Regions from separate parts of the Homo sapiens genome. Here region 2 is linked to region 1. Evidence: promoter capture Hi-C in 16 types of primary human blood cells and fetal thymus (Javierre and others, 2016). All regions are on one chromosome and are shown on one strand. Each heading gives the region's core, a stretch centred on a gene start or on the middle of the fragment in contact. The rest is flanking DNA. Distances are from core to core; before and after follow the strand shown. Region 1 holds the start of SLC19A1 (solute carrier family 19 member 1). Region 2 holds the start of TSPEAR-AS1 (TSPEAR antisense RNA 1).

Region 1 (7,855 bases), core at 2,850-5,349:
TAGGGTTTGGGGCCACACTAGACTCATGGCACTGCTGGGCAGTACCTGTGGCGGTCAGGGGGCACACCTCACCCCACAGGCCTGAGGGCAGCCCACGTGCCTGCTGCTGCTCTAGCGGCACCCAGGTGGCCCAGGGAGGGCACAGGCAGGAACGGACGCTGCTGGAGGCCGGGGTCACACCACAGGTGGCCAGCGGCGGGTGGCTGCAGGTACCAGCCTCAGGTCCCCATCAGCCGCGTGCCCTGGCAGGAGGGCGTGCAGGCCAAGCCCACAGTGAGGGAAGGGCAGAGGGAAAAGCAGGTGTCCTTGAGGGGGCTGAGAGCAGCCAGGGTTGAAACACGCGTGGGAGGGAGGATGGGATGGAGCCGAGGCCCAGCCCCTGAGCCCAGGGACCCCAGCATCCCCGGCGGCAGGTTACCCTAGACGAAAGCAGCTGGCAGGAGCCATGAGTGGACCTGACACGTTCCAGATGGAGCACCCCAGACCACAGGACTTCATCCACGAGGCAACATGCACCCAACCTTGGGGACCATCCCGCCAGCACCCCCGCCCCACACGGCCAGGGCACGTGGTGGAGCAGCAGCAGCACGAAGCACACTCGAGGGCGTGTCTCTTTCAGTCCTGATTCTGCCCAGGAGAAAGGCTCCTCCGGTGCGGGCAAGGGCACGTCTCACCACCACAAATCGTGCCTTTCAGCTGCGGGGCAAAAGCCTGTCCACTTATCAGAATCATGTCTCCAGGTGCCACGTGGCCCTGGTTTTCCATTAAGGCCTCGGTGTAAAGTTCTCCTTCAAGTAAGTCAAAAGTGAACTGCCATAAACAAGTGTGTCAGACGCCCACACCAAGCCAACCCCGTGAGGCCAGGACCTGGCCCTGGTCCCCCACAGGTGCACCTCACGTCTGTATCAGCTGACCTCTGCTCCCGGAGGCCAGGCCTGGCAGAGTGCACGTGGAAAGGCCATCTGCTGCTCAGGTGGGGTGGGGATGCAGCGCATGCAGAGGGCAGCTGAGCAGCCTTGTGGGGCGGGGTCGCCGTCCCATCTGCACTGGGCTGACAGTTGGACAATTGTGCCTCGCCACAGGGCCGGCTTGGGAGGGTGGCAGGGGGTCTGCAGAGGGTCTGGATTTGAGAAGTCTCCTCCAACCCTCCAGCAGGGGCTCAGAGCATCCCTCGATGTGGGGCCAGCTTTGGGGGTCCAGGGACCCCTAGGAAAATCTGCCCCAGGCTCTCAGCATTCAGTCTTCACGTATCAGAGACCACTCAGGCTGGAAGTGCTCCCTGAACCGCCCCCAACCTGACACACAGGCTTAGGAAAAAGGTGGCCTTCAGGGACCAGAGAGAGAGACCCTCCCCAGGCCACTTAGGCAAAGCCATCAGCATCATCTGGGGTCCCGTCTTGACACCTCTACACACTCATGTCTGTGACAAAGGAACATAGGTGATGGCAGGGAAGCCCTTAAGAGGCAGAGGCTGGTGGGCTTGCAATGGGGGCCGCAGGGAAGAGGGGGAAGGGTTAGGGGAACCTCGAGGTTTCCGGAGCTCCACGGCAGGGCACAGCTGGGAAGAAGATGGGACCAGCACCCTCCATTGGAGGCAGCCAGGACCCTAGAAGTTCTCAAAGGGCCAGGATGAAAACAGCCGGCCAGGCAGGAGGAAGCGCAGGCAGGGGCCACTGCCAGGCCGAGGCAGATCTGACGGTCGCCTGCCTCGGCCTCACCTTCCATGCCTCCTCAGGGCCTGTCAACAGCTGGGAAGATCAGTGCACAAAGGTTGGGCTCCATCACCAGGGACCCTGATGCCCAGAGAGGCCACGGGTAGAGCTGGACATACCTCAGACCGCACCCACTCCTCCCCACTGGGAGACCCATTTGGCCCTGGGACTCCCTGTCAAGTTCACTTTCCCACCTGTCAGCAGGTTTAGACAGGCGCACCGATCCCCAGACAACCAGAGCAACCAGATCGCCGCAGACAACGGGGAGCCATCAGGAGCTGAACTAAGCCCAGGGTCTGCGCCCACAGTCCATGGCCGCAGGAGTCAGATCCCCACCCACAGGACCCCCAGGGGCCCGGGAGCCCTGGGTACTTGGGCCCCCTGTTCTGAAAGGTGCCACCTCCAGAAGCGACCAGAACATTCCTTCCTTGGAGAGACAGCCAGAGTCTCCGCCAGCAAGGGGCTGCTGCTGGTCTTAACAGTCAGCCTCTGCTGCCAGCATACTCAACTTATGTGCCGTGAACGTAGCCCACTGACAGAGGCTTGGCCATCACGGCCCAGACCACCTCCAAGAGGAAAGATAGGGAACTTGGTCACCATCATAGAAACGCAGCCCCAAGCCAGGGGACGCCTAGACTCCAAGTGTCCAGACCCCAGCCCAGTCCCATACAGCTTGAGGCCTCTTCCCGGCATCTGAAGGAAGTCCCCGACCAGACAGGAGGGCCACGGGGAAGCAGAGAGAATCCCTGCCTTCAGGAGAAGGTTGTAACAGCCCCTGCAAATCCCCGGCCCCACTGTCCACAGTGACCAGCCCCACCCAGGCCCTGTCCTTCCAAGCACCAGAGAAGGCCAGAGACCCGCAATCAAAACACAAGCAAACGCCACCTATCATTCCGTGTTTAAACCAGCTCCTACTCTGGAAGGCTAACCAAGAATGTTCGTTATGTTTTTTAGAACGCCTGCTAGTTTAAAAAGAAGAAGAAGAAAGCATTGCACACCCTCCCACCCCTGTTCAGATGACCAAGTTCAGGGTTCCTAACAGCATAATTAGACCCTCCGGCTATCACTGCTGCAGGCCCAAACACCCGAGAAGCACTCTTTCTCATCTGTGTCCAGCAGAGATAACTGTACTATCTGGAATTATAAAAATCCACCAAAGCCCCTTCGGAAAGAAAGCAATTAGCAATTGCAACAAGCAGTGCACAGGTGGCACCCAGGCAAAGGCGGCCAGTGAGATGCAGCCTGGCTCCCAGGCCTGGACAGGGCAGGCAGGTGCACTGGGCCAGAGGCACCTCGGCTCTGCTGATTGAATCTGGGCTGTGCGGGGATCCTCGGGTCTCCGTAGGGGGAGGCCACCTCTTTACAGGGCGGCCAACAGGCGCCTCCAAGGACTTTATCCCACCTTCCCTCTGGATGCATTCTGGATTTCGGGGCCAGCTTAGTTGGCCTGTGTCCTGAGGCCAGGCAGGCCAGACTCCCCAGGACAGGAGTTTCCGATGGACAGGACCCTAGGGGGATGGCTTTCCTGCTGTAGCGGTGTTGGAAGGACCCACTCGGGAAAGGCTCCAGCGGCTGTCCAGGCTCTCTCTGAGACGCCTCGGGATTGCTCCGCTGGATCCGCACCCACAGCTGCTCCAAGGGGAAGTTGCACCTACAAAGCTTCTGGCACAGGAGACAATGGTCTGGAGATGTGCCAGGGGCCCGCCCCACGCGTGGCTGGCAGGGTTCACCCACCGGCTGGCCCGTCCCGAAGCAACACGTGCCTGGGCGCGAACGCCGGATCCACGCTTTCCTCCAGACCCGGGGGTGGGACTTGGCGCCCCAGGATGACGCGGAGGGCAGGCTGGGGGCCGGGACTCCCCACCCCATTCGCAGGCTGCGGCGGAAAGCGAGCGGCGGGAAACCCGCTGCACAGCAACGGTTCTGCCAGGCGCCCGGGCCACCGCGACCCCCGCGGAGACCCCGGCCCACGCCCCGCACCCTCCCCAGGGCCCCCCAGACCCCAGGCTGCAGACCGCAGACCCCGGCCACGCCCCGCACCCTCCCCAGGGCCCCCCAGACCCCAGGCTGCAGACCGCAGACCCCGGCCCACGCCCCGCACCCTCCCCAGGGCCCCGCGGACCCCAGGCTGCAGACCGCAGACCCCGGCCCACGCCCCGCACCCTCCCCAGGGCCCCGCGGACCCCAGCGCCAGCCCCCACACTCACCTCACAGGGCCCTGCAAACCTCGGCCCGCGCCCCGCACTCACCCCAGGGCCCCGAGACACCCCGCAGCCCCCGACACGCGGCCCCGTGGCCCCGTTCCCCACCGGTACCTGCGACTCGGCGGGGCGGCTGCCCTGGGGCTCCCGGACCCGGCCCCGCGCACGCGGACTCCGGGACTACAGCGCCCACAAGGCGGCGCGGCGGGCGCGCGGCTGCGGGGTGGGCGGGTCCGTCCCGCCGAACGCGTCCTGAGGGCGGGGCCTCGCGCGTGGCCGGGCGCTGCGGCAGGAGCGTCCCCACGGGGCACCCTCCCACCCACGGCCGTCTCCCAGCCCCGGCGCCGGCCTCTCCCCACCCGGTCACCGCCGGGGTCACGCGGCCCCTCGTGCTGCGGCCCTACCCCTGGGGCCGCCCCCTGACCCCGACCGCCCCTCGGGCCCCCACCCCCGCCGGCGTCAGCATCCTGGGGTGCCACTCGCGGAGGTGTCGGTCCCTCGGGCGGGCACCCTGCCATCCCTCTCCCCCGCGTTCTTCCCACCCCCGGTCCCCTCCTGACCCCCCCTCCTCGACGAGGCCTTGTGCGTTTTCCTTTTGGCACCCTGGAACACCTGCATTCCTGGCCGCAAGCTGGATCCGGGACGCGGGTCGGGCCCACGCGCCCTCAGGGGTGGCCCTGGGCCGCCTTCGTGGGGCTCCAACAGGGACACGCACAGCCTGCTCTTGGGGACCGCACGGCCCCGAACTCGGCGCCCCCGGGACCCCGCCGCCCGCCCTCCTGCCTGACCGTGACCCGTACGGGCTTGTACCAAGGAGCAAGCCGGATCCAGGACGTGGCCCGGGGCCACCAGTCCCCATCCCAGCAGGGACAGCCCGGGGGAGACCCGCGCAGGCCTCGCAGACGGCAGCGCAGTCACACTCAGGAAGGGGGGCCTGGGCCACTCTCCCAGGAAGGCGTGGGGCTGCGGCAGACAGCACCGCCGAAAGCCCAAGGCCTGTGCAGGACACGGGGAGAAGTGGGGGGCCTCAGGGTCACTTTCCCCTGGAGTTACCCAGGGCCTGGCTATGGGGAGGGAAGCCAAGCCGAGGGCTGTGGGGGCCCCAAGGCTAAGGAGGAGCCAGGAAGTCCACTGCACAGAACAGAAGGGGACGGCCACCGTGGTACCCACAGCTCAAGAGTGCGGGTCCCAGGCGAGGGGTGAGTCTGGGGCAGCAGCCCCTGGAATGTACCCCTTCCGGAGTGTAGACAGCACAATCCGCGACCTGCCTCCTGGTGTTGCGGGGGTGCTCTTGGTCTCCCGCCCACCAGCAGGGCAACCCCACCAGGAAGCCAACACAGGGCCCTTGCCCTAAATGGCCGCCTGCCCAAAGCTCTGGCCTGGGCCTTCTTTCCAGAGTCCTGAGTGTAGCAAGCCACACGAACAAATCTCAAAGGAACTTAAAAAGGATTTGTTGGCTGGAAATGGGGGATCTGGGGTAGCTTGCAGAATTTAAGGGAACACTACAGGATGGAGCGCCTCACCTGGAGGGACCCCCTGCTTTGTGGGAGCCCTGGCTCTCTCCCCTGTACTGGCCTTCTCCACGGGTGGGCAGAACCTGGCCCTGCTGGAAGACAGGAGGGGCAACGCGGAGGAGGAGGGGCCCTTCCTTCCCTCCAGGCAGAGAGGAGCCAGCCATGGGGCCAGCTCGCCAGGGCAGCCTGCTCCCTTTACACGCAGGACAGGCCAGGAAGCCGAGGGGAAGTGGGGATGAACAGCAGCGGGGCTCCTAGACCCCTTCCCACAGAAGGATGGCTCCCACCCCCTTCCCGCCTGGAGACAGCAAGGCAGGGAGCCACAGCCCCAAGGGGACCCCGCAGGACCCACAAAGACCAGTCCCTCACCTGTCTCTCCGGTCAGGTGTAGCCGAGCGAATCCGCCCCCGGCCGCGAGGGGCCTGCCCAAGCTGCCCTCGGGTCCCCCTGCGTGGCAGGAGTCCTGGGAGTTCCCCAGCCACACAAGGCCCAGGTTTCCTGCAGGAGCTGCTTCGGAGTGGGGAGGTAGGGCTTCTGCCACCAACAGCACTTGGCAGTTGTAATCTAGAGGCAGCTGCTCTGAGGGAAGAGCCAGGAGACTCGTGAAGAACTTACAGAAACCTCCATTGAGGACTGCGAGGAGTGGCCACAGACAGTGGGGCGTGGGCTTCCAGAGGGCTCCACCCAAAATAGAGATTTACAAACGCAGGTGACTTGGGAGTGACACTGGCATCTGGGAATGGATCCTGTGCTTGGGCCCTCACGAGCCTCCAGCGGTCCCCGTCCTTGCGTGTTTCATTATCGGTTTGTCAAATAGTTAAGTGCCTGAGCGTCAGGGATGGCAGGGAGAGCTGGTCCCTGGGAGAAGCCCTGGGTTGGAGGGATCAGCAGGGGCCCAGCAGTGTGGATCCCGGCCCTCCAGCCTGTAGGCTCCAGCCATATACAGTGATGTCTGGGGGCTGCAGGCCGCAGAGACCCCTTCCCCTCCTGGAGGGGCTCAGGTGGGCTCTGCAGCCCACCCCACAGCAGTGCCCCATCCCCAGCTCCTGGGCCCCCACTCCCCGGCAGCCTTAGCACCCATAGTCCAGGCCCAAGAAATCTCTGCCAGAGAATGAGGACCCTGCCCACCCACTGCCTTCTGAGACCAACCGGCCAGTCCTCTGCCTTGGCTGGAGAGACGCAGGGCTGTCCCTGTGGTTAAGGTCCCCGTCAGCATAGGGAGGCAGTGGCATTCGAGCAGCCCTTTCCCTCAGCTGGTGCTGTTGTGGTGGCTGTGGCTCTGGAAGCAAGGCTTGGACCAAATGCTAATACATGGACACACATGCACAGAGACACACAGATCCATGCAGACGTGCAGAGACGTGCACATGCAGATGGACACAGACATGCGCAGACACGCACACACACTGATGTGGTTTGGATTCTCTGTCCCCTCCAAATCTCATGTTGGAATGTGATTCCCAGTGTTGGAAGTGGGGCCTGGCGGGAGGTGTTGGATCATGAGGACGGATCCCTCATGAATGGCTTAGCACCATCACCTTGGTGATGAGTGAGTTCTTGTTCAGTTAGCTCACTCAAGAGCAGGTTGTTTAAAAGAGTCCGGGACCCCCCCCTTGCCCTCCCCTCCTCCCACTCTTGCTATGTGACGCTGGCTCCCCGTCACCTTCCACCATGTGTGGAAGCTTCCTGAGGCCTCACCAGGAGCAGATGCTGGCACCATGCTTCCTGTACAGCCTGCAGAACCGTGAGCCAATTACACCTATTTTCTTTATGATACCCAGTCTCTGTGTTCCTTTATAGCAACACAAAAACAGCCCCCCTCATACGTACACACACGTACAGACACCACCAAGACATATGCACAGATACAGAGACGTAAACATACAGACATACACATGACACAGAGATACAGAGACATACACATGCATGCTCCCGTGCAGACGGCACCCCATATGCAGGAAGACGGGCGCGGACCGGCCTGCCATGCCCCAGCATGTGCAGTGAACTGGCCTGCACATGGCCTCAGCCAGTTTTTCCTCCCACATTTCCAGACGTCTCCCCAGTCTCACCTTGCTGAATGACAGGTGCTTCTGCTCCCATCTGAATCTGCTTGGTAGAGGTGCGGTGCGCCCTGTAAATGCCTTACCTGGCTTGCTGGCCAGTGGGTCTCTGCTGCAGCTGCCCCTCTCTCCAGCCCCCACTCCCGCCAGGCCTTCGCCCCCACTTTTTCCACGAGCTGACCTCCTAACACTCCCAGCGGCCAGGGGTAGCCCATCACAAGGGCCTAGGGGCCCAAAGGTCTGGAGAAGGGGGACTGACATGGATGCCCCTGTGTCAGGCCTCCCAGCACTAGCCCCAAGCCCAGGCCTGCCTGCAGCTGTGGCCCCCATCCTCTCAGAGGCTGAGCCGGGCCACCGTCCTCAGCACC
Region 2 (6,347 bases), core at 2,437-4,936, 1.0 Mb before region 1:
CTTTATTCTCAGAGGTAATTACATTCCTAAGTCCCCTGAGAATCTTTTTAAGAAAAGCTATTAGAACTGATTGGTTAGGGGGCGAGAAAATGATTGTCATGATGAGCAGCTGCAAATGAAAGTTAAAAAGCCAACCCCATTCGTTAAACGTACGATACTTGGAAAACTCCTGGAAATAAATGAGAACACCACAGTGTCTATGAGAGAAAAATTAAATATCAACAACTCCCATGTTAGGATGTCCACACGCCGCATCCCTGACAGAATCCAAAGGCAGAAGCACCAGCACTCGTGGGTTGTGGCTACACCCGGGGCAGGGCCCCAGCTCAGATCCCACACGGGTGCAGCCAGCGCCGGGCCATCCACTGGGCCCAGCCAATCTCGGAAATGACACCTGACTTGGGACTCGCTGTGAGCCGGTGGCACCTGCGAGAGAAGGTGAGCCCCCGGGGGGAAGCAAGGCTCTGGGAGGAGGCCGGCCTCGGTGAGCCCTTGGGGGGAAGCAAGGCTCTGGGAGGAGGCCGGCCTCGGTGAGCCCTCGGGGAAGTAAGGCGCTGGGAGGAAGCTGGCCTCAGTGAGCCCTCGGGGAAGCAAGGCTCTGGGAGGAAGCTGGCCTCGGTGAGCCCACAGTGGGGAAGCAAGGTGCTGGGAGGAAGCCGGCCTCGGTGAGCCCTCGGGGGGAAGCAAGGCTCTGGGAGGAAGCTGGCCTCGGTGAGCCCTCAGGGGGAAGCAAGACTCTGGGAGGAGGCCGGCCTCGGTGAGTCCTCGGGGGGAAGCAAGGCTCTGGGAGGAGGCCGGCCTCGGTGAGCCCTTGGGTGGAAGCCGGCCTTGGTGAGCCCACAGGGGGGAAGCAAGGCGCTGGGAGGAGGCCGGCCTTGGTGAGCCCACGGGGGGAAGCAGTGTGCTGGGAGGAAGCTGGCCTCGGTGAGCCCTCGGGGGGAAGCAAGGCTCTGGGAGGAGGCCGGCCTTGGTGAGCCCTCGGGGGGAAGCAAGGCTCTGGGAGGAAGCCGGCCTCGGTGAGCCCTCGGCGGGAAGCAAGGCTCTGGGAGGAGGCCGGAGTTGGTGAGCCCTCGGGGGGAAGCAAGGCTCTGGGAGGAAGCCGGCCTCGGTGAGCCCTCGGGGGGAAGAAAGGCTCTGGGAGGAGGCCGGCCTTGGTGAGCCCTTGGGGGGAAGCCGGCCTTGGTGAGCCCACAGTGGGGAAGCAATGTGCTGGGAGGAAGCTGGCCTCGGTGAGCCCTCAGGGGGAAGCAAGGCGCTGGGAGGAGGCCGGCCTTGGTGAGCCCTTGGGGGGAAGCCGGCCTTGGTGAGCCCACAGCGGGGAAGCAAGGCTCTGGGAGGAAGCCGGCCTCGGTGAGCCCTCGGCGGGAAGCAAGGCTCTGGGAGGAGGCCGGAGTTGGTGAGCCCTCGGGGGGAAGCAAGGCTCTGGGAGGAAGCTGGCCTCGGTGAGCCCTCGGGGGGAAGCAAGGCGCTGGGAGGAGGCCGGCCTTGGTGAGCCCTTGGGGGGAAGCCGGCCTTGGTGAGCCCACAGGGGGGAAGCAATGTGCTGGGAGGAAGCTGGCCTCGGTGAGCCCTCGGCGGGAAGCAAGGCTCTGGGAGGAGGCCGGAGTTGGTGAGCCCTCGGCGGGGAAGCAAGGCTCTGGGAGGAAGCCGGCCTCGGTGAGCCCTCAGCAGGAAGCAAGGCTCTGGGAGGAAGTTGGCCTCGGTGAGCCCTTGGGGGGAAGCTGGCCTTGGTGAGCCCACAGTGGGGAAGCAAGGCTCTGGGAGGAAGCCGGCCTCAGTGAGCCCACAGTGGGGAAGCAAGTCTCTTGGAGGAGGCCGGCCTTGGTGAGCCCACAGTGGGGAAGCAAGACTCTGGGAGGAAGCCGGCCTCGGTGAGCCCTCGGGGGGTAGCTGGCCTCGGTGAGCCCTCAGGGGGAAGCAGGGCTCTGGGAGGAAGCCGGCCTCGGTGAGCCCTTAGGGGGAAGCAAGGCACTGGGAGGAAGCTGGCCTCGGTGAGCCCTCGGGGGAAGCAAGTCTCTTGGAGGAAGCTGGCCTCGGTGAGCCCTCGGGGGAAGCAAGGCTCTGGGAGGAAGCTGGCCTCAGTGAGCCCACAGTGGGGAAGCAAGGCTCTTGGAGGAGGCCGGCCTCGGTGAGCCCACAGTGGGGAAGCAAGGCTCTGGGAGGAGGCCGGCCTCGGTGAGCCCACAGTGGGGAAGCAAGTCTCTTGGAGGAGGCCGGCCTCGGTGAGCCCACAGTGGGGAAGCAAGTCTCTTGGAGGAGGCCGGCCTCGGTGAGCCCACAGTGGGGAAGCAAGTCTCTTGGAGGAGGCCGGCCTCGGTGAGCCCACAGTGGGGAAGCAAGTCTCTTGGAGGAGGCCGGCCTCGGTGAGCCCACAGTGGGGAAGCAAGGCTCTGGGAGGAGGCCGGCCTCGGCAGCTCATTACCTGTAAATAATACTGTTCACCGAGAAGGTACGCCCATCGAAGGAGTTGGCCACCACCAGGAAATAATCTTCTCCCACCGAGAAAAACTCCCAGTCCAGAGCACTGCAGGAACAAGTGGGTGGATATTAGGACACAACAGACATCGCCAGGGAACTGGGGGATTGGCCAGAAGCTACCTCCAAAATTTATAGAGGAGGAGCCGGGGCCAAAGTGGGGAGTGATTTTCTCACAGTCACATATGTGTTGGTCTATTCCAGGAAAATGTAAATTAGTTGTTTGCTTAAAAAAAATTTCAAATTTTATTTTATTTTATTTTTGAGATGGAGTCTCATTCTGTCACCCAGGCTGGAGTGCAGTGGCGAGATCTCGGCTCACGGCAACCTCTGCCTCTCGGATTCAAGCGATTCTCCTGCCTCAGCCTCCCGAGTAGCTGGGATTACAAGTGTGCGGCACCACGCCCGGCTAATTTTTGTATTTGTAGTACAGACAGGGTTTCACCATGTTGTCCAGGCTGGTCTTGAACTCCTGACCTCAAGTGATCTGCCCACCTCAGCCTCCCAAAGTGCTGGGATTACAGGCATGAGCCACCATGCCTGGCCTCAAATTTTAAATTATGGTAAAATACATATAACATAACATTTCCCACCTCAACCATCTTTAGGTGCACAGATCAGGGGCATTAAGCACATTCATACTGCTGTGTGGCCGCCCCCACCATCCACCTCCAGAACGCCTTCATCCTGCAAAACCGAAGCTCTGCACCCAGTAAACATCACCCCCTCCCCCCTCCCCCCCCCCCCCCCCCCAGCCCCGGCACCCACCACGCCACTTTCTGTCTCTATGAATTTGACCACTCTAGGGACCTCATATGAATGGAATCGCACGGTATTTGTCCTTTGTGTCTGCCTTAGCTGAGACTCCAGTGACTCAAGGTTCATCCGTGTCGCACTGTGTGTCAGAATCGCCTTCCTTTCTAAGGCCGAGTAACGCTCCGCTGTGTGAATGGACACGTTGTGTTTGTCCATCCGCTGACAGACACTTGGGGAATTTCCTCCATGTGGCTACTGTGAATGCTGCTGCTATGAACACCGGGGTACAAAAGTCCACTTTTAAGAGGTTGAAACAATCAGAGAAAAAGTCTCAGGCTGCTGGTGCCTGCTGGAGGCAGGAGCTTGGTTTCCCGCTCTGGACACTGTGCAGAAATGGCGTCACAGTGCTGTGGCCTCTGTGCCTGGTTTCTTCTCTCAGCATTGTGTCTTCAGCTGTGAGGTCAGCGGCCGTGAGGTCACTCCAGGAGGTGCCTACAGGACCTGCAGGACCTGCTCGTTCACAGATGTTCTCCTAGAAGCAGAAGCTGTTTCTTGTTGCAAACAAATTTGCTGTGTCCTGTCTTAGGAGTCTCACCTGAATTTACCAAGGATGCATCTGTGCTTGGGGATGGCTCGGTTTGAGGGGTCTGAGGAGCGGCTCCCCTGGATCCTTTCCTCCCCAGGAGCCCACCTGCCGAGCTGTCAGCGTCAGCCCCACATCTCAAGATGAGGAAATGGAGGTCGAAGCCATGCACACGCAGGCGTCCTGCTGACATGCAGGCCAGGCGGGTGCCTCTGTATTCAGCAGCCTCAGGGCTGTGGCCAGTTCAGGCAGCAGAGGGGCCTCATCCCGGTGCTTCCCTGCAGGCAGTTGTGGGGCCGGCCTGCAGCAGGGGCTCAGACAGGGCCTTGGGAGAGGGAGGGATCACAGAGGTGTCCAGTGACAGGCAGGGCGGGCAGAGCCCATGGGGCCTTGGGCTCCTCACTCCTTCGGTCAGTCAGGGTGACATCTGGAGCCACCTCCATTAATGGTGGGTTATGATTTGGTTCCCATGCAGCCCGTGCCAGCTCGCTGGGAGGAGGACGAGGACGCCTGTGATCACATGCTCTGGTCTGGAGGCACGGCCGCGGGCCCCGGGTCAGTGTGAATCCGCGGGGTTACTCCTCAGTCGGATCTGAGCTCTGAAACCCAGACCCGAGGAAGACAAGCGGCCACGTCGGATGTACCAGTGGTGGAAGATCCTGTCCGGCTGCACCGAGGCTCACATCAGAAGCCGGCTTCGGTTTCACCACAAAATAAGGCATCTAGTGCCCGATTCTGCCTCCAAAGCAGCCCTGGGTCACACTCGCTGTAGGACAGATGTTATTCTTCAGAATCACGCCCTCTGGCAAATGCCCATCATCGGACAAATGGACGGATGAAGTGTGACTCAGCCATGAGAAGGGGGATGCTCTGAGCCGCGCGGCCACACCACCAACCCGGAGGACACGGTGCTGCGAGAAAAAGCCAGGTACAGAGGCCACGGCTCTACGAGTCCATTTCTGTGCAGTGTCCAGAACGGGAAATCACAGAGACAGGAAGTGGGCCCGGGGGTGCCCAGTTGGGAGGGAGGGGCTGGAAAAGGGTGTGGGGGGCTCCTTGTGAGGGGATGAGAATGTTCCAGAGTTGTCTGCAGCCATGGCTGCACATATCTGTGGATTTAATAGAACTACTGAATCTAAAAAGCAAACACAAGCGACCATTTGAAGGCAGTCAGAGCCAAGGTTACACACAGAAGCCACAAAACCCCTCAGCGCCCTTGAATAGGGTTTTGGACTTGGTGAGGCCACATCACGTCTCCGGGAAGTGTAGGGAATTCCCCATGCTGGGTAGAAGGGCTAGGAGTTTGACTTGTGTGTGCTGTTTTGATGGTAATTATTAAACATTACCTTAATTAATTGGTAAGTACTTTCTGTGTTTCATAATTTAGTTCATAAACTGTCCATACCACTGTCCAGTGGTGACAGGGCCATAAGTCGCGAGTGTGTAGCTGTGTTCTGTCAGTTCCCGCAGCTTTCAAATCCCGAGGCGTCTGCCTCATCTGTTTCTAGACTGGGCATCATGTCCATGACTAATTTTTAATCACAATTCATTCTCCAACTTGTCTTATTCTAAATGTTGTTCTAAAAAGCCTAATGTTTGTTTTGTTCTCGGCGTTGACATTGGATGGCGTGGATTCGTGCTGGGGACACACAACTGCCACCGCCGCCCCGTGCCTGTTTCTCCTGCCATGGCTGCCAGGCCACGCAGGGGCCACGGAGCCCACAGGCAGGTCACCCCGGAATCCCCAGTGCCCCCAGCAGACACCGCCGCTGGCTCTTTTTCTTTATTATGAGTGTTCTTTTTTTAATTTTTAAAAATCATATAAGTAAGATATTAGTAAGTTAACATTGTCATCCTTTGTAAAGCCAGGAGTTCAGAAGTAACAGGGCAAATAGGGAAAGTCCTTCCTGGCCTGTCTACATACCCCTGCAGCCCTCCCGGTCCTAGGGTGACTGCTGACGGAGAGGGCACTCCCTTCCCGAGTCTTCTCTGCACGTCCGTGGGCACGCACAGCTGAGCGGCACACAGCAGCCCGGCTCGCTCCTCCGCACTGGGGACACAAGATTTCACTGCACCTCACCCAGCCCTTTCCACAGAGCAGTTCATCTTGGAGACTCTTCCCCTCGAAGGGTCTAAAGGTATGTGTTGTTGTGTGTCTCAAGCTGAGATTAGAGCCCAGTGCCCAGGAGGGGCAGGTGAATTGTTACCGAATGAAATAGGAGTGCATGAAACCCGAGGAAACCTGGGAAAGCCGCCTGCTCCATCCCAGGATGGGAATGGGCCAGATTCCAGCTCCAAGCTTGACCCATGGCCCCTGGCTCTGGGATCTGGGTAATACGGATTCGATTGCAGGTTTATTCACAGACCGGAATTCCACCCCAGAGGACGCCCCACACTGGTCAGGATGGTTGTGGATTCTCAGTGCCCACTGTCCAAAATGTGGTGCCCACGCAACCTCCTGTGGCTCCACGGAGCGTGTCGGTCTGGAACCATCACTTTCTCGTACATACAGACCCACCCTCCATGTTCCCTG

Evidence for each region. Contacts are between HindIII fragments. The CHiCAGO score rates a contact against its expected background, and 5 or more counts as called.
Region 2: the fragment with the promoter of TSPEAR-AS1 here is called in contact with the fragment with the promoter of SLC19A1 in region 1 in 3 of 17 cell types (M0 macrophages, erythroblasts and total B cells); the score reaches 5.8 in M0 macrophages.

What each region holds. Positions count from the first base shown.
Region 1 is chr21:45,538,341-45,546,195 of GRCh38, forward strand. It overlaps SLC19A1 (solute carrier family 19 member 1), which reads right to left and starts at 4,100. Exons shown (of 6, transcript NM_194255.4): 1 at 4,028-4,100. RefSeq lists silencers at 3,534-3,593, 3,944-4,253, 4,294-4,373 and an enhancer at 4,228-4,740. The HindIII fragment of the contact is 3,738 bases long and covers 3,370-7,107 here.
Region 2 is chr21:44,502,358-44,508,704 of GRCh38, forward strand. TSPEAR-AS1 (TSPEAR antisense RNA 1) reads left to right here and starts at 3,687. Exons shown (of 7, transcript NR_103707.1): 1 at 3,687-3,971; 2 at 4,290-4,742; 3 at 5,680-5,952. It overlaps TSPEAR (thrombospondin type laminin G domain and EAR repeats), which reads right to left. Exons shown (of 12, transcript NM_144991.3): 11 at 2,423-2,524. RefSeq lists enhancers at 805-1,324, 6,030-6,347. The HindIII fragment of the contact is 6,455 bases long and covers 1-6,111 here.